7 separate regions of the Homo sapiens genome follow, and regions 1, 2, 3, 4, 5 and 7 are each linked to region 6. Evidence: promoter capture Hi-C in 16 types of primary human blood cells and fetal thymus (Javierre and others, 2016). All regions are on one chromosome and are shown on one strand. The core of a region is centred on a gene start or on the middle of the fragment in contact, and the rest is flanking DNA. Distances in the headings are between cores, read along the strand shown.

Evidence for each region. Contacts are between HindIII fragments. The CHiCAGO score rates a contact against its expected background, and 5 or more counts as called.
Region 1: a contact is called between a fragment that was not itself captured here and the fragment with the promoter of UCHL5 in region 6, in 1 of 17 cell types (neutrophils). The highest score is 7.7, in neutrophils.
Region 2: a fragment that was not itself captured here is called in contact with the fragment with the promoter of UCHL5 in region 6 in 2 of 17 cell types (neutrophils and M1 macrophages); the score reaches 6.1 in neutrophils.
Region 3: a fragment that was not itself captured here is called in contact with the fragment with the promoter of UCHL5 in region 6 in 1 of 17 cell types (neutrophils); the score reaches 7.9 in neutrophils.
Region 4: a contact is called between a fragment that was not itself captured here and the fragment with the promoter of UCHL5 in region 6, in 2 of 17 cell types (naive B cells and total B cells). The highest score is 6.2, in naive B cells.
Region 5: a fragment that was not itself captured here is called in contact with the fragment with the promoter of UCHL5 in region 6 in 2 of 17 cell types (neutrophils and monocytes); the score reaches 9.0 in neutrophils.
Region 7: a fragment that was not itself captured here is called in contact with the fragment with the promoter of UCHL5 in region 6 in 3 of 17 cell types (neutrophils, activated CD4 T cells and M2 macrophages); the score reaches 11.1 in neutrophils.

Annotation. Positions count from the first base shown.
Region 1 is chr1:192,648,266-192,650,965 of GRCh38, reverse strand. All of the region lies in intron 5 of RGS13 (regulator of G protein signaling 13), which reads right to left. Among named protein-coding and RNA genes, the nearest start is that of RGS13, 13 kb to the right of the region's middle. The HindIII fragment of the contact is 9,764 bases long and covers 1-2,700 here.
Region 2 is chr1:192,584,120-192,586,819 of GRCh38, reverse strand. All of the region lies in intron 3 of LOC105371664 (a long non-coding RNA gene), which reads left to right. Among named protein-coding and RNA genes, the nearest start is that of RGS1, 9.7 kb to the right of the region's middle. The HindIII fragment of the contact is 4,084 bases long and covers 1-2,700 here.
Region 3 is chr1:192,719,796-192,722,495 of GRCh38, reverse strand. No RefSeq gene overlaps it. Among named protein-coding and RNA genes, the nearest start is that of MIR4426, 4.8 kb to the right of the region's middle. The HindIII fragment of the contact is 1,661 bases long and covers 475-2,135 here.
Region 4 is chr1:192,629,779-192,632,478 of GRCh38, reverse strand. The region is part of intron 1 of LOC107985241 (a long non-coding RNA gene); the gene reads right to left. Among named protein-coding and RNA genes, the nearest start is that of RGS13, 5.0 kb to the left of the region's middle. The HindIII fragment of the contact is 364 bases long and covers 1,240-1,603 here.
Region 5 is chr1:192,696,126-192,698,825 of GRCh38, reverse strand. No RefSeq gene overlaps it. Among named protein-coding and RNA genes, the nearest start is that of MIR4426, 19 kb to the left of the region's middle. The HindIII fragment of the contact is 1,946 bases long and covers 315-2,260 here.
Region 6 is chr1:193,058,049-193,060,748 of GRCh38, reverse strand. UCHL5 (ubiquitin C-terminal hydrolase L5) reads left to right here and starts at 1,389. Exons shown (of 11, transcript NM_001199261.3): 1 at 1,389-1,564. The coding sequence starts at 1,489. It overlaps RO60 (Ro60, Y RNA binding protein), which reads right to left and starts at 1,137. Exons shown (of 9, transcript NM_001173524.2): 1 at 973-1,137. RefSeq lists enhancers at 238-970, 1,038-1,567, 971-1,703, 1,728-2,037. The HindIII fragment of the contact is 5,498 bases long and covers 1-2,700 here.
Region 7 is chr1:192,566,983-192,569,682 of GRCh38, reverse strand. LOC105371664 (a long non-coding RNA gene) reads left to right here. Exons shown (of 5, transcript XR_002958418.2): 4 at 2,467-2,536. Among named protein-coding and RNA genes, the nearest start is that of RGS1, 7.4 kb to the left of the region's middle. The HindIII fragment of the contact is 1,701 bases long and covers 572-2,272 here.

The DNA.
Region 1 (2,700 bases), core at 92-2,591, 410 kb after region 6:
TCTTCCCTACTGAGTTCCAATTTTATCTGAATTATTGTAGCAGCCTTCTAGCTAGTCTCTCTACTTTAGTTCTATTTGGTTACATTATGTTTCATATAAATAACAAGAAAATCTTTGATATTTAAATATATAAAAAAAATCTTTCATATGTAAAAAATTATTTGCAAATAATGTAGCATTAAATAGCATTATCTAAAAGGTATCTAAGTTGCTAACATTCTTAATTTCTAATTAACTTTTGGATTTTGCCATACTTCTGTTCTCAAACTGATGGTTTTCTTGGATCCCCTTTTCCCACTGAGATGTTGAATTTAATTGTATTTTGATGACTATGACTTAATGGCTCCCTAAAACGTCTCTAAACCAATTTCGGTTCATCTATTGAGACCCAGGCTGATATATTTCTTTTTCATGTGTGTGTCTGAGCTACTGTCCTTAGAAATAATGTTTTAATCTATGTAAAATATGCATCTGCATATCTCAGCTACAGCATGCATTTGACTAATGTCCTTGGTTAATGTAAACACATTTTTATTCTCTGGCACATTTAATATTTGTATTTTTAGTTTTGTCTTACTGGTTGGATCATCCATAGAATGATTCGTTTTATTACTTATTATGTGATTGTTGAATTTTTATGTGAACTTCATAGTAATATGATTTCTGGAAAGGCTCTTACCCTATTTTTGCTGGCTTTTATAAAGAGCAGTATGATGTTTTCCTATTCTCATCTTTGCTAGAGCCTTTGCTTATTCTCATGACACTAGAATTCTAAATTGCTGATTCTAGCAAGGCAGATGACCACTTGAAATCCTTGCCAAATAATTAAGCCTATTCATTTTTTTAATAAGGCTTCCAGGACTGGCACAGAAACTTACATAATATAGCTTGGTGTTTTGAACTTTTCTCACTAATATTTTTCTTGTGTTTATTCATGGAACATTTATTGCATGCTCATTGGGTACAAAGCACATTTTCAGTCTCTCAGGGGTTTGAAAGGTAAATGAGAGGCAAGCTGTGCTCTTAAGGAATTTATAATCTAGGGAGAAAGCCACTATATAAAAAACCCAATACACAAACTGGCTACAATTAAAAGCAGAATAAATGTTAATACTAACAAAATAGAAGATAAAGGAGAAATTACTAAGCAGTTTTCTGGAGAAAGTGGCACTTGAATTTGACTTTCAAACATGAGCAGAGTAACTAGAGATGAAAAGGACTTTGAACAAAAGCCTGGAGGAGAAGAATCATAGATGTACAAGTAGAAAATGAAGTGACCCACATTGGTGGAGGGCATGTTATGTGACAGGTCATAGCTAGAGACAAATTTTAGAAAATGTTTTGGGTTAGGGTGTAGAGAGTACTAAATACCAAGATTTTGGACTTGTTGGTAGGCAGCAGAGAAAAAAGAATGATATTCAAAGACATGTACTTTATTACTATTAAAAGAAACTACCAATTATTGTGTGCTTAATCTATATTAGGCATTGAGCTAGATGTTTTGTATCTCACCTGCACAATAAACCTGAAAGGATAAGTGATACTATTCCCATTTTGTAGATGAAGAGTATGAAACTCCAAGAAAGAGATCAATCTAGCAAGGTGGCAAAATGTGTATTACAGAGGATTGGGACAAAAATTTACAATATAGTTAACTGAATATGCACTTTTGTCTCTTCATCACATTTCAATGTTCTAACACTGACCCAGAAGATATATTTGTTTAAAATTCACATTCATGCTGGCAAATTGGATTATAAACTATGAGGAATACCTGAAAAGTGAAAGCCAGTGGCGATTGCATCAAAGAAAGAAACTATGGCCCCAAATGCCCATTGGAAAGGCATGCTACAAAATATGAGAGCTCAGGTGGTGACCCAAGCCTGTAGAGGTAGATCCAGCCCTAGGGATGAAGCAGAAGTAAGCGCCAGAATGGTTGATTAACGTGTTTCAGCAGGAGTAGCCAAGTGTCTACACCTACTGCCATTACCCTCTGGGCTGGGCAGTGACAACTGAGTCCATACTAAAGAGGGTCTTGAGTCAGAAAGAGCAGGTAGTGCCTCAGGACTATGACAACCCCCATGAGGAACAGGGGGTACCTTGCCCAGAATAGCCACTGGTACACCCCACTAGTTAAAGCATGTAAGTAGCACAGCCAACTCTCCTTCATAGTCCATAGCTCTAAACAGATAAAACATTCACAGAGAGGCTAAAATGGGATCTTAAATAAAAAGATGGTTCTATAGGCAAAAATTAACAAGCATTGAGGGGAACCAACTCCATTTAAAAAAAACTACCAAATTCAACAAGAGAATTTTCTGTGTCTACACCCTACATTTTTTTTCTGTACCTGTCTTCTGGTTTTATCATTTTCTACAACGGACCAGCTTTTCTGACCCCAAACGCAATTGACTATTCTTTTGAATGCACGTCCTCCTTTATTTTTCCTGCACTGAGCCCATGACTTTGTCTCTGTCACATCCATTGCTGGTATCTCTTATTTGTACCATGTTAATGTCGATACTTACCTACAACTATATTCAGACCCATGTATAGTCCCACTTAAATCAGACACTGAAAAAGTTGAAACAAACTTTGGGGAGGAGTTTTAGAACAGCAAGACTCAAATTTATTCTTACTTTTGAAGGCAGCAAGAACAGCGAGTTAAGTGTTTTTGTTTAATACTAACTTTAGAAGGCT
Region 2 (2,700 bases), core at 93-2,592, 470 kb after region 6:
GGGAGAGGGCCTAAGACTGGTGAACAGATAGACAGTCTCTACCACATCTCCTAAAACAAACAAAAAGAATAATTTTGGGACAATAACTATAGCTAAAGTAGAAATATATGGATGTGAGCAAAGTAATATTAGTAATTAGTAGGACTGACTTATTCCAGCTCTTCTGGGCCCCAATAATACCAGAGTTTATATTTATTTGTGAGTTACAGAGAATGCAATTCATCCAATGTTCAAGAAGTTCACAAAATAATTTGGCATACTTTGAATTCAATCCACTGTGTTGTGTACCTCTTACTTCTCTGAAGCCATAAACTTCCTTCAGGACAGAACAAACTACTCTCTCCTCTGAGCTCTCATAACACATTTTTCCTGTTTGTCAAGGGAAGGCTGAGATAAACCCCAAGAATTCCACAGGAGCAGAAGGAGAAGGGGCAGGATGTTCATGGTTCTTCAGCTTTACAGCATCCCATGAGGAGGCAGGTGTAGCTTGCCCTCACTGCTCCCCAGTACCTCCCCTTGTTTTTTTAAATAGGATCTTTGGAAGCAAATAGACAGCACCCAGCTGATTTGGTGACAGCAGAGAGAGGGCTTGCAAGAGGAGAAAAACTTGATGTGACTTGATGCCCAGGGAGGTTGCATACAGTGCTGATATGCAAAGTGTCTCCCACTATAGGGAGGAAGAGCCACCAGTCCCATTTGACTTTTTCCTAGGGATCTGAAGAGAACCCCTAGGCAGATCATCTATCAGACAATCTTATTTGTCTCTCCTTTATACCTCTTTTATAATGCTTATAGTCTATTTTACTATAATCCATTTGCCTCCTTCTTCCCAAGAGCGTAGTGAACTTATTTTTGCTTTATTATTTATCATTTCAGTGGGTCTAGCACCTAGTGAGGCTTATGGCACATAGCAGGTGTCATTACTGATAAATATGTTAATTTATCAATTAATAATTAGACTCTTTTCCAGACTACTTTAGCACTTCTTACTACCCCCATAGAAAGTATAAATTGTAATCAATCTAGTCAAAATTATGCCAAAGAAACATTATAGGAAGTATCTTATTTAGCTCTTCCTATGGGAACATGTTCTACGTATTACTTCTTCATAGTGGGTCATTTGTCTCATTAACTGACAGATTTAAGAAAAAAGCACTAGACTTCGAGTACAATCTGTTTTTATCACTAATTCATGCTGAGGGTTACAAGGCAGGGGATAAAAGATGAAACCAGAGCAGAATGTGTTGATCTTACTGACTTAAACCAAGCCTACTGAATTTTTCACTTTCTAGGTTTGACTAGAATAGCAGTACATAGTTTAGGGGGATGGGATAATATCTGAAATTTACATCATTCTGATTCCTTTTCTCTATGTAAAAATAAAGGATAAAAAAATCTTCACTCATTTTGAGGAGTTAAGGCAAAGATGATTGAACTGAAAAATGTGCCGAAAGAGTGACTGGCTACCTTAAGTCTTCAGTCCTATTTTTCTCTCTATTGACAAGAAGTGGGCACTACCATCATCCCATCAGTCAAATAGACCCACTTTCCACAGGAGGAGGGAGAATTCCTGCCCCACTGTTGATTTCAACACAGGCCTCCACGCTGTCTACTGCTGTGGGTCACCATGATGGTTTTGTTTGTGTTTGACAGTTTTTTTTTTTTTTTTTTTTTTTTTGCCCATCTCTTGGCCTGAATCCTAGATTTTGGTTTTGTTTCCTGTCTGTAAAAGGTGCTTTGACCTTACAGCTATTACTTGCTGCAATTCTTTTGAGTTTCTTGATCCTTGTTTTTTGTTCTCAGCCTGGATTGTGTCTTGCAAGCCTCTGCTTTTGTCCAAGTTAAAAGTGAGCTTTGAGAGAAAACATGTGGAATGTTTCATATACATGGTAATTGGAATAAACCATTGTCTACTGAAAATACTGCATAATTTATTTTGCATGTGGAAACTCTTGAAAGTGTGTGCCTTAATCTTCCTCCAGTGCTACCACATTCTATTTCCACATTGTTTAATGAGCATTTGTAATGGAAGGACCTCATCGACAGTATGTTAGAGCAGAGGACATTGCTGTAATTTTGGGAGCCCAGCCGAATCACCTCAAATGTATCCTAAATTCTCTCTATTAATTATTCGTCGAAGCAAATTGCTCACCAAGTATTGCCTATTCGCCCTGTCCTTCCCATTGCCTTGATTACTGCCCTATTTCAGGCTCAGATTCTCATTTGCTGGGCTACAAAACCAGCCTCATATTTGGGTTTCCTTCCTCAATTATGTCTTCTTTTGCAAGTGTCTTTCATAGTTAATCTAGAATTACCCTTTTTAAAACACAAATAAATCATCTCCCTTCCATGAAGAATCATGACATAATGGGGAGTCTTTGGAAAGATACAAACCTAGGTTCAAATCTTAGATCTGCCATTCACTAGTTATATGTTGTTAGATACTTTTTTCCACTTGTTTCTGCATTTGTGGATCAATAAAATGAGCCTAACAATACTCACCTCAAAGAAGTTTAAAGTGGATTAAACAGATAACACATGTATCCAGCACAGTGCCTGCCCCATAGTAGACATTCAGAAACAATTAAGACTTTATTCTTTTGCTTAAAACGTCAGTGGTTACCTATCCTGTAAAAGATAAAAATTCACTCTTTTCGGAGTAGACTATATTTTCTCTCTGAATCTTCTCTAAACTACCTT
Region 3 (2,700 bases), core at 56-2,555, 340 kb after region 6:
TTAAGTAAATGTGTTCTTCAGTCACATGTACAGCAGCAAATAATCAGTGGAACTTTTAGATAAATGAAGGCTTCATAATCGGACTTGACTTGATCTACTATAACAGATGAAAAATGAAGCAATATAAGGGTAAATACCAAAGATGGGTCAACTTTTAGTCCGTAACAAAGAACTTCTTCCCATGTTTTGGGGAACATGTGATATTTTGGGGAAGGCTGTCTGGTTTCTGGCTTATTACCTTACGGGCATGATAAAAAAAATCAGGGGAAAAACCAGATATTAATCACAAGTGACACTATTCATAGGTCATTTGGAATTATTTTCCATTATTGATTTGGAATTAGTGATGATATTTAGTTCAGCATTTTTATTACATTACTTTCTCTGTTAAACAATTCTAACATTTGGCACAGTGTATTTAAAAATTAATTATAATAAACTCCAGGAAGCTGACATGATTATTAGTTTCAAGCTTGATTATATAATCTAGTATTGAATAATAGAAACTCGAGAAGTTAGTTTTATAAAAAGAGAATAAATAAAAATATTAAGCATTTGAAAATATTTAATTGGAAACCATAATAAATATTAATATTGAAAGCCTTCCATTAATTAAAACATTGTCATTATTTTAGAAATGTACCATTTTATAGAAGATTAATAAAAAGTATTAAAAATTGAGTTGTGATGTAGTTTTAAGATATTATGTACTCTAGGTCAAAATGTTCCTTTAAATTCTCAAGACAACATAAATCTGACTCACAAAAATATTGTGTGCACTTTTGTGAAAAGGGTACTATTGTTAAAAAATATGAACTTTCTCTCTTCTGGCTATTGTAACATTAAAATATGGTTTAATTTTCTGGACACTTAATTTTCTTTATCTCAGATCCCTTGATTATTACTTTTTTTTTTTTTTTATTTTGAGATGGAGTCTTGCTCCGTCACCCAGGCTGGAGTGCAGCGGCGTGATCTCAACTCACTGCAAGCTCTGCCTTCTGGGTTTGTGCCATTCTCCTGCCTCAGCCTCCTGAGTAGCTGGGAATACAGGCGCCTGCCACCACGCCTGGCTAATTTTTTGTATATTTTTAGTGGAGACAAGGTTTCACCGTGTTAGCCAGGATGGTCTCGATCTCCTGACCTTGTGATCTGCCTGCCTCAGCCTCCCAAAGTGCTGGGATTACAGGCATGAGCCACCGCGCCCGGCCACTTATTACTTATTTTTTATATTTTGTGTATTTACTATAGGTTTTTTGCTTTGTGGTTAACATGAGACTTAAAAATCATCTTGTTATAAGAGATTATTTGAAGCTGATAATACTTACCTGATTATGTTTAAAAAAAAAACAACTCTATACTTTTACTCCACCCCCACCCCCACATTTAAATTTTTCAATGTTACAATTTACATAGTTTTATACTGTTACCCTTAACAAATTATTGCAGCTATTATTATTTTTAACAGTTGTGTCTTTTATACTTTATTCTAAAGACACAAGTGACTTATATACTTTCATTACAGTATCAGAGTATTCTGAATTTTATTGTGTACTTACTTTCTCTAGTGAGTTCTATACTTTCATATGTTTTCATGTTACTTATTGGCATTCTTTTCTTTCAGATTGAAGAATTCCTTTTAGCATTTCTTATAAGACAGGTTTGGTGGTGGTAAACTCCCTCAACTTCTTTTAGCCTGAGAAAGTCTTTATTTCTTCATTTCTGAAGGGCAGTTTTGCTGGGCACCAAATTCTTGGTTGGCAGTTTTTTCCTTGCACTTTGAATATATCATCCCACTCTCACCTGGCCTTTAACATCTCTGCTGAGAAACCCACTGCTAGCCTTACTGTTATCCCCTTATATGTTTTTACTTCCTTTCTCTTGGTGCTTTCAGTATCCTCTCATTGTCCTGATTTTGAACAGTTTGATTATTTTGGTGTAATCTTGTTTGGATTAAATCTGATTAGAGAACTTTGACCTTCATGTACCTGAATATTTATAACTTTTTCCAAATTTGGAAATTTTCTGCAATTATTTTTATAAAATAATTTTTTTACCCCTTTGTCCTTCTCTTCTTCATGCACTCTTATAACTCAAACATTTGCTCTTTTAATGCTGTCCCATGAATCCTATAAGCTTTCTTCATTCCTTTTCATATTTTCTCTGTGATTGCATATTTTCAAATAAATTGCCTTTTAGTTTACAGATTCTTTTCCAGCTTAATCAGTTCCGCTACTGATGCCTTCTATTTTTTTAGTTCATTATTTATAATTTTTAGCTCCAGAATTATTGCTTTTTTTAAAAAAATTTTGATCTCTCTGCTAAATTTCTAATTTTGGTCATTTTTTTTTTTTGATGTCATGAAATTGTTTCTCTGTATTTTTTGAGCCTCTCTGAATGCCCCTAAAACAATTATTTTAAATTTTTTGTCAGATAGTTTACATATCTCCATTTACTTAGGGTCACCGAAGTCTTTTGATGGTGTTATATCTCCTTAGATTTTTATGTTTTTTGTTGCCTTACATTGATGGCTGTACATTTGAAGAAGAAGAGACTTGTTTTAGTCTTTAAAGACTGACTTTGTGAGAGCTCTTACAAGTTGAACCATCCTTGCATCCCTGGGATAAATCCCTCTTGCTCGTGATGAATGATCTTTTAAATATGTTGTTGAGCTTGGTTTGCTAGTATTTTGTTGAAGATTTT
Region 4 (2,700 bases), core at 172-2,671, 430 kb after region 6:
ATCTATCCTCAGGACTTACGTGGTGTCTGGTGATTGAGGGCAGTAGATGGCTAGGTAGTGAATCAGAGGCAGGGAACATTTTAAAAGAAATAGGTACCTCAGTCAGCTGATAGGAGAGACTAAAAGAGCGCAGAGCTCAGAATTAGCCTGCATTCCTTCTCCCTGCTTTACCAAAGGAGTCTCCCACTTTTCTCATTCATGCTTCAAATGCATATGTGGACATAGCATTCAGACTGATGTAGTAGATGCTCAATAAATATTCAAAGAATAGATGGATATAGTTTTTTTTTCCCAACAGGATTTATCCAAGCTAAAAACTACCCTAATGTTCATTTTAACCAATTTTCACTTAGATAAAAATTATAGGGTGAAGTTTGGGAAGGATTATATTGTACAAGCTTCCCATATCTCATACTTTCCTAAGAAGTAGTTCTGCCTCTCTGACTGTAACCTTTTTGTAACCTATAATTTGTGTAGTGGTTAATGAGATATATCTGGAGATGCTTTGTAAGTATAATTTACACAAATATATATTTTTATGAGGCATGCAAATTTAAACAATGGTGTCCTTGTGACTTAGTCAAACAAGGAACTAGAATAAAATACAAGGCAAATGTTTTTCTTTAGGATTATGACACTATATCTTAAAACCTCTGAAAGATATGATAATGCAAATAAGATTAGATAAAACAAGTTTAGTTTTGTAGAAAAGGCAAAGAATTTTAAAAATTGCAATCCCAGAAGCTTCAGAAACCTACTTTGGTATGCTTTCCTCCATACAAAAAGTGTTGTTTAATTCCCCCTCAAGTCTGAATATTTGAGGAGTTGCTTTAAGAACTGTAAAACTAGTGCATCAACTACATGCTTTTTGCAGATATGGAAAATATTTTCTTAAAACATTTTTACACAAAGGAAAAGTAATTTTGCCCAAAGAAAATAACATCCAAAGGAAAATGAAGAGTGATTGGTGTTATAAGAAATATAATCCTGGAGGCCTGGAACTACATAAGGCATCCTGAATGTACAGCGTGGGGCCAATAGAGATTACACAAATGATTTTTATAGATGAAGCTGAGCAAAGGGGCAGAATGGGAAGAAGAACAACGGGGACCGAGACACAAGAAGGATGACTTTTGTTTGAAAAAGAAAATGTTCAGGGCATTAAAAACACATGCCCTTTTTTTACCCCATAACATTTTCAAACACTACAGAAAATAATATCTAATAAACCGTGAAGCTTGTTTTAACTCTTTTAAAAACTTCCAAACAAAGGAACTTAGGAAAAATGGCATTCTAGTTATATTTTCCCCCAGATCAGTGGGAATTTATTTCATCTTATTGCTTTTCCAAGTGAGTAGGCAGAAAGTAAATAGAAATGTGAAATTTGTATCGATTGTTTGCTTTCCTTATAACCTTTGCCAAAGAGCTTTGTGAAGGCAACTTTTCTAATAAGGAAGGTATTTTTATATTTAAATGTTGGTTGTCTGTGTAGGAAGTGGAAGAGCTTGTTTCAGAGACTGCTTCTCCAACCCCATTTTAAAGCAGAAGTTCCATCACGGACATTTAGAGGTTAAAGGAAATTTAGATAATCTAGTTCAAAGCTTTCATGTAATGAAGAAAGAAATTGATCTCTTGTGCGTTGCCCTGAGCCACACAGTAGCTGAGATATAGCTGAGTCAAAAACTCAGGCTGCCTAACTCCTGCGTTCTGTGTACTTTAAGGTCCTCATTCCCTTTCTGGCTTACTTCTGGTTGAAAATCAGATAATTGTGTATATCTTACATTCTTATCTCAGTTTAGGTAACAGCCTAAAGTTTTTAGGCCCTTGTGTCTTTGTATCTATCTCCTCTTCTTCTTTCTCTACTAGAAAAACATGTGACAAGATGCTGTGGTTACACGAATTCTCCCCTACTCTTGCTTTATTTTATTCACTGTAATTTATTCCATGTTGAGACTCTGGTCTTTTCTCTTAAGTGGTATTAACATGGTTTCTATTTGAGTTGAGTAAATGGAATATTATGCTTCTGAATCTAATTTTTCTGCCTCAAATGATGCAATTTGAGCATCATTCTTTAAAGACACACGATATATGCTGCCTTCTTATAATGAAATATCTGAAAGAAAATATAGATTAAAGAATGATTATTATCATTGAAAATGATTTATTTTACAAAAGAATTCTATAGGAATTCCATTAGTTAATTCTTCTAGTTTAAATGTCTGAAATTCAGTTTATGCCCAGTATTCAAGTACATGACATAAAGCAAAATACATTGGCTTTATACATTTTATGAATTTGCTTTATGAATTTTATGCATATTGAATTTGATGATAATTAAAAAAACACCCAAGCTTTTCTAAACAAAGAACTCCAGCAGCTCAAAAACACTTGTTTTATCTGATAACATAAATAATAATGTACTTAATAATATATTTCTTATTATTTTATTTTCACTTTCTGCCAAGGCCCGGGGAAACATTTAAATTGCTTATGTGCATGTTTAGAAATACACCGGAAAATCAAACATGCCTAAGAAAAAGGGGTCAAAAAACTATTGTGAAACAGTGGTAACTAAGGAATATTCCACTTAGATCTGTTCCAAGTCAAGCAGTGTTCCAAAGGGACCAAAGGGACCATGTGGCTTTATTTTTAGGCTGCAGTTCATTGACTCAGGCTGTCACTTCTGCTAATTGGCATAGC
Region 5 (2,700 bases), core at 38-2,537, 360 kb after region 6:
TGCAGGATGGCTCATATTGACCCAGGTGAGCATTTTTTTTTTTTTTTTTTTTGCCAGTCTGATAACATAATTTCTGTGACTATTTTAAAGAACAGCTGACTTTAGTACACTGTTTTAATACTTTGCTTCTCTTAACAGGAGCCATTAAGTTGTGAGAAATTTTAGTACTCGAGTTGTGTTGAATTTTTTTAGTTTTCTTCATAGCATAAAACTTCTCCTGAAAAGGAAGAGGTCAATATGGACATCACAGTGGACAATTTCTTGGAAGGATGATTTAGGCTTATTATGAAGCTTATTAGGCTTATTATGAAGCTTATTAGGCTTATTATGAATTAAAACTTATTATTAAGTATTAATGTAAATTCTCATAGGGCCAGGCAGATAACATAAATGAGATAAGTAGGAAGAATGAGAAAGTGTAATACCCTAGAGCTGTGAGGTCTACAGAAATCTGTAGCCCACATTTACGTGGTCCAAATAAATCACTTCTGAGAGCTTCATTTGCTTTTTGAAATTCTTGGTGCTGTCTTGTCTTAAAGCATGGGTCACATTTGAGTAGCGCAGTGGAGAAGGTATCTTCTAAGACTGGGGACCACTATAAGTAAAATTAAGAAAGAAAAATATCCTGGTAAGTGGGGTTGGCTTTAGGGGGTCAGCCACACTGTAGGGCAATAATGTTCAACAAGGGGTGATTTTAAGAGCATGTGATACTTGTCAATGTCTGTAGACGTTTTGCTTATCACAACTGGGGAGGGATGCTACTGGCATCTCATGGATAGACACCAGCAGTGTGCTAACACCTTATAATGCACAGGTCATCCCTTCACAACAGAGGATTATCCAGTCCAAAAGATCAGTAGTGCCCAGATTGAGAAACTCTGCTCTAGATGAATGTGTGTGTTGGGAAATAGGGGGAGGTAAAGTTAGATATTATATTCTGCAGTTTTTGGAGTTTTTTGAGACAGATCTCACTCTTTTGCCCAGGCTGGAGTACAGTGGTACGATCTTGGCTAACCACAACCTTAATTAACTTCCCTGGCTCAAGTGATTCTCCCCTCTTCAGCCCAAGTAGCTGGGAATACAGGCTCATGCCACCATGCCCAGCTATTTTTTTTTTTTTTTTTGAGATGAAGTCTTGCTCTGTCGCCCATGCTGGAGTGCCTTGGCTCGATCTCAGCACACTGCAACCTCCGCCTCCTGGGTTCAAGTGACTCTCCTGCCTCAGCCTCCCAAGCAGCTGGGATTACAGGCACGTGCCACCACACTTGGCCAATTTTTTTTTTTTTTTTGTATTTTTAGTAGAGACGTAGTTTCACCATGTTGGCCAGGCTGGTCTTGAACTCCTGACCTCAAGTGATCCACCTGCCTCAGCCTCCCAAAATGCTGGGACTACAGGCGTGAGCCACTGTGCCTGGGTAATTTTTGGATTTTTTGTAGAGACAGGGTTTTTGCTATGTTGCCCAGGCTGGTCTTGAACTCTTAAGTTCAAGAAAACTACCCGCCTCAGTTTCCCAGAGTGCCGGCATTACAGGTGTGAGCCACCGTGCCTGGCCTGCAGTTTACTATTAAAACACCCAGCATAGAAGGTGGTAGTCAACTTAATCTATACTTTAAAGTCCGTTAGTTAACATGTTAGGTACCTTAATCAGGAATATGCACTCCAGGGATGATTAGTTAGTACATGAAAATTTCTAAGTAGAGGCCCAAAGACCAGAGGCCTGGGCATTCAGAAGGTTTCAATGTCTTTATTTTAATTAATATCAGTTGCCTTATTAATTAGTATAATGGGTGTTAGATATTACTTTTAATCTGTGAAATGAGGGCTGATCAGGCTAGAAATTTGTATGGGCTTGGGAACTGGTGCTTAAACAAGACAGAGCAATCTAGTAAGCCCAAGAAATTACATCCTTTGGAAAGGCATCATAGGTTAGAATTCTGAATCTTTCCTGTGTTCTGTTGTTTATCAGAGGATATTGTTGTGAAACCCTGAACAGAAGGATAGTTAAATTCCTCTATTAGAATCTGCTTCAGGTGAATTTTCCACACAGGCCACTATCTTAGTCCATTCAATTAAAGTATATTAGACGAAAATACTGTAAATTGGGTAGCTTATAAAGAACAGAACTTATTTCTCACAGTTCTGGAGTCTGAGTGGTACAAGATCAAGGTGCTGACAGATTTGGCATCTGGTGAGGGCCCCGTTTCTCACGGATGGTGCCTTCATCCTGTGTCCTCACGTGGTGGGAGGAGCAAGGAAGCTTTCTGGGGTCTCTTTTATATAAGCACCAATCTCACCTATGAGGGCTTTGCCTAAGGCCTTACTGACTCCCAAAAGGCCCCACTTCCTAATGCCATCACCTTAGGGGTTAGGATTTCAACATATGAATTTTGTGGGGCGCAAACATTCAAACCAGAGCAACCACTGTTGGGACACCTGAAAAGCTAAGAGAGATGAGCCTTCATGGAGCTTAAAGAACTGGTGGTATGGCAATTTAGGGGTAAAGTGACTATTTGCATAAGTAGCAGAGTCAGCTCTGAGTCTTGCTTTCACATTGGTGTATTCTGAGTGGCCAGGCTGTGGGAGAGAAGACCCACAGGATACATCTTCTTCTAACCATTGGTTACAGCTGAAAGCTACCAAAATGAATCCAATACTTGTGAATTAACAATGTTCTTAGTTTAGTTTAGTGCATTCAGTCT
Region 6 (2,700 bases), core at 140-2,639:
TACAAAAAAAATTTTTTTTAAACCAACACTTCATACAAATTTTGGCTTCTACCCCATAGCGTACTCAGGCTCCTTTTAATACAAAAGCTGCTCTGTTGCTTCCCTCAATAAAATTTACCACGTTTATTTCATGGCTTCACATAATCTGTAGCACAAGGCTCCCTAACTCCAGGGCACAAGTCACCTATTTGAGAAGGAAGGAGTCAGAGTTTTACCCACTAAAACATTTTTTTTTTCTGGAAGCCAAAGGTCTTTCTTGGAATATGTAGCTTTTAAGGAGTAAATATACACTTAACGACTTCAATATACTCTTAAAAACTTTAATCTTAACACTATAGTATTCTATAAGAGCCTGCTGAATGAGGGCAATTTAGTAAATATTTAGTAAATATTTGGTTTAACTCATCATCCAGTTTTAGAACCATTCCAAATGTTTTTAGATTAATACACGACATTTGTTTTCAACCTAATTTTCCCTTGACGCACCGCATCCCCTTCCACTAGTCTAGCAGCCCCATGGACAAACCTTTCTCCTCTCCCTCGTTATTCCTCTGTGATAAATTCACCCTGTCTTCCCACAAAGATCCTTCTTCCAAAACCCAGATCCCGGGCGACGCCTCTCCGCGCAGAAGCCGCGGGAGAAGGAGGAGAAAGAGGAGGAGTAAAGCAGGCCCTCTCGACGTCGGCCTGTGGGGAGCGATGCCGACAAGCAGGAGCGGTCCCGGCTTCGGAAAGGGCCCACCCTGAGGAATGGTCCGGCCGGGCCTAGCGAGGATGTCCCTACCGCGATGCTGGTTCCGTTACCCAGGGTGGACAGGCGCGGAAGCGGGACGGGGAAGAGCGATAGTTTCGCGGCGTTTGCCCAGCCTCAACCCCTGGGATGCGGGTGAGAGACATGGAGGACTGGTCAGAATTTGCGCGTCCCTGGGGCCGCACAAAAGGCTCCCAGCCGGCCTCCCGCAATGTCCTCACCTGTACCTGGCAGCCGACCCCCTGGATCCGCAGCGCCGCCAGGAGAAGTCCTGCGCAGCGCTGGGAAACGACAAAAGAAGGCAGCCTGACGGGCAGCGACAGCCACAGCAACAGCAACAGCCCCACTGCCGCCGGGGATTCCAGGTTCGGTTCCCGGGAACGAGTCCTGCCCCTCTTCTTTTGCCCCGCCTCCGCCCCAGAGGGGCGAGGATCCCGGATGTTGCCTCCTCGGCGCTGTGAATCACCGCCCTTTCTTCTCAGGCCCCAGCCCTTCCGAATCCGCTACGGGTGCTGCAAGGCCTGGGAAGAGTTTCGATGTCTCTAGGGTGGCTAGAGCGTCCTCCCGCGCTCAGTCGCGCTGCAGGTGACGGCGCCCGGAGGCTGTCGGGAAGTAGGCGGGGTGACGTGTGGTTGACGAGCTCGGCGGCGGGTTTGCTGAGATCTGTGGCCGGCGGCAGCTGGTGCGGGGGGCAGCTGAGAGCGAGAGGTGGATCGGGGCGGTGTGTGGCCAGGGCCATGACGGGCAATGCCGGGGAGTGGTGCCTCATGGAAAGCGACCCCGGGGTCTTCACCGAGCTCATTAAAGGATTCGGTGAGAACCAAGGGGACCGTCCTGGGCCTGGGGTCACGGGAGGAGGCCCAAGCTGGGCATGGAGTGGTTCCCTGCGGCCACCGCCGCCCCGCGTCTGGAGAGGTGACTTCAGGAACCTGGAGTCCGGGTGGGGGAAATGTAGATGTTCTGCCCTCTCCTCAGCTCGAGACAGTCGCGTTTCCACAGTAATTTGTAGAGCCACACCACGAGGGCAAGGATCGTGTCAGTCTTGTGCCTGCTGCATCCTCAGGACCTGGCACCCAAATCCTGTAATTGACTTGAGGGCCCTCGCTCCCCAAGCTCTTAAGCACGTATTGCCCTTTGCACTGCCCCTTCTCTGCGGCGCGCACCTTATCCCGGGCTGGTGAGGTCAAGTGCATTGCTCAGGCCATTAGTCCTGCAGAAGCCACCCTAGGGTGCGCCTTCTCAAGGGTGAGGTGTCTGCGGCTCAAGCCGCCCAGGAACTCGAGATTCTGGTTATTCAAAGCAGAACGCCTTGAATGTGTGAATAGCTCTTCGGGACGTCCACACACGCTGACTGCGTGGGCCTGAAAGGCCACTTCACTGGTTCCGCTCTCTGCTCATTTCTGGCTTCCGGTGAAGTGAGTTTTCTTGAGCTAGTGTTCTAGACTAGAGGCCACATGCTTTCCTCACAGTTTCTCTCTGGCTGTATTTAGTGCCTTTCGTCCTAAATAATCAACACATTTTACTTTTTATCCTTCCCTATTTATCTTGTTCTTAGTCTCTTCTTTGGACAGTACGTTTTTATCTATTTCCCAAGTGTTATTGACTCTACGATGTTAAAACTTTTACGCGGGATTAACAATTAAACGTTGATGTAGATATTGCCTGTTGTACACAGCTTAATATTTGGAATGTCATTTATCAAGCATATGTTGTTCATCTTCTATATCTCAGGCACAGTGGTAAGGATTGGGAAATTTTCTTTTTTTTGTTTGAGACAGAGTCTCGCTCTGTCGCCCAGGCTGGAGTGCAGTGGCGCGATCTTGGCCCACTGCAACCTCCATCTCTCGGGGTCAAGCGAATCTCCTACTTCAGCCTCCCGAGTAGCTGGGATTACAGGCACGCGCCACCATGCCCGGCTAATTTTTTTTTTTTTAGTAGAGACAGGGTTT
Region 7 (2,700 bases), core at 173-2,672, 490 kb after region 6:
AGCTTTAAGATTTAAAGACTGCCCTGCTGGGTTCTGGACTTTCATGGAGCATGTAGCCCCCTTTTTCGGCTGATTTTTCCCTTTTGGAGTGAGAATGTTTACCTAATGCTTGTACCCCCATTGTGTCTTAGAAGTAAGTAACTTGTTTTTTATTTTATAGGCTCATAAGGGGAAGGGACTTGCCTTGTCTCGGATGAGACTTTGGACTTTGAATTTCTGAGTTAATGCTGAAATGTCTTAAGACTTTGGGGGACTGTTGGGAAGGGACACTTGTATTTTGCAGTGTGAGAAGAAACTGAGGCTTGAGGGCAAGGGGCAGAATTGATATAGTTTGGATATGTGTCCCCTCTAAATCTCTTGTTGTATTGTAATCTCCAGTGTTGGAGGTGGGACCTGGTAGGAGGTGATTGGCTCATGGGGGAGGATCTTCATGATGGTGAGTGAGTTCTCTCAAGATCTGGTTGTTTAAAAGAGTGTGGCACCTCCCTCCCCACAACCCTCTCTCTCTTGCTCCTGCTGGCACCATGTGAGACACTTGCTCCCCTGTCACCTCCTGCCATGATTGGAAGCTTCCTGAGACCTATCCAGAAGCAGATGCCAGTGCTATGCTTCCTGTATAGCCTGCAGAACCATGAGCCAATTAAATTTCTTTTTTAAAAAAATAAATTACTTAGTACCAGGTATTTCTTTATAGCAATGCAAGAATGGCCTAATACAGAGGTATGTTTTAAATATTAGAGAGCAACTTCAATAAATGACTGTTAACTTTCCAAGTTTCTAATAACACTATTCCAGTGATTTCATTTGCTTTTGTTCTTACTAAACATCGAGGTGGCTAACAATAGAGACTTATTTGCTTTGCTTTTCCTCATTAATTATATAATTTTCTTAGAAAAATCTCTCAAGATTTCCTGACATGTTCTGTTCTTTCCAAAACCATGCCAGTTATTGCTGACAAACACATTAACTCCACTTTCTTCATGTCCTTTCTAATGCTTTGCTTTTATGTCTATTTACATATATCTATATATATAAAGTGTATACATTTATATAATATGTGTATATAATATATATACCTATATATTTTATTATTATTATTTTACTAAATATTGGTGTCAGACTTACCGGACATTTGTTTGTAGTAATAATCTTCCTACTTGAGAAAGTAGCTCTAAGTCAACAGATAGTGTCCATGCTTAGCAGTATACTACTATTATTGTGAGTACAAGTGGTCTGTGGTGTTCCACTGTTTTCTGTGTCTGTTCTGTTTTTTTTTTTTTTATTAAGCCTTGTCTGCCATCTTATTTGTATTCTATTTTAAAAAATAAATGAAAGGCTTTGATTCTGTTGAATCCCAGTGACATGTTCATCTTGCTGCTTTGAAATCTCACATTTCAAAAGACTGTGAGCCAATTCTCACAGCTATACCTTTTCCTGCTGTGTGAGTTTGATCAAATCAGCTAACTTCTTTTCAGTTTTCTTTGTGTAGAAGTCAAAGGCGATCATCAGCAACTTGCAGCTATGGTAGTGGCATGGGAAGATCTCCTTTTGAAATTCTATACCAATCAAAACTAGCCCCAGAGAAATTAAGATTTAGACAGAATTTGCCATAGCTAGGATGTTTTCCATTTTTCTTATGATGTTAGAGTTCTTTGCCTAGACTTCTTCCTAAAATTTAGTAAATTTGGCAATCCACCTGTTCCAAATGCAGGGCTACTCTTACCACTGCAACTCTGCATTCACTGGGCCAGTCTTCCAGATTGCTTCTTTCCCTATCAATATTTACTTGTCTTGGATTTCCTTTTTTATTTAGTTAGTTGATTTCTGTAAATTAATATGTTAATCAAATGTATAAATGTATGTTCAGATGTTAATGTCACAGACTATTCCTTCCAACTTCAATTTAATTTTCCTGCTTTTTCTTAGGTACTTATAGCTGGATATTGATCCCTCCCAACTGCAGATCTTATCCAGCTCCCTCCTGTTGTGGAGGAATATTGAGTTGTCTGTTGTTTTAGATAGGATTTCCATAGCTGCAAGTGTCAGCAGCCCCACATTGACTGTTAATTAGCTTAGGTAAATAGGAAGATAACTGGAATACCCTTGGGTACCTTAAGTAATAAAAGGAAATGTTGAACAACTAACCCCTCAAAGATCAGCTAAGACTGAACTAGGGGGTAGGGGACTTAGAATGCTTGTAAATTGTGAATTTGCTATAGACCAGAGTCAGCTACAAATTGGGGAAACATGACTGTCAGCAACTTGTGAAGCTTATATTTTGCACTTCTAAAGGCAGCAGAATCCTGAAGTGTAAACAATCTCTTCTTACCCATGTTTTTTCCTCCTGTGTGTTTTGTCTTGCCTATTTTTTTTATTGTGTTATGAAAACAGAAAACCAGGGCAATATATTTGGTAGGAACTCAAAGACAGAACAAACTCATAATCTTGTTTTATGTTTTGTTTCAGATGCTATGGAAGATCAGAAAATATAAATTTATGAACTGCTATAAACTGTTATTTTCTTCGTGAAGATCAGGTAACTTTTGTCTTCTCTTTGTAGTCACTGCAACGTTTTAAGTTCTATTTCATCTGAAGTTGATGTTTTATTTGTGACTTTGTGGCTTATCCCCATATTGGTTCTCTTAAGACCAGGCTCTTAGTTGCAACAGGAAGATCTTAACATACCAAAAACAGTGTATA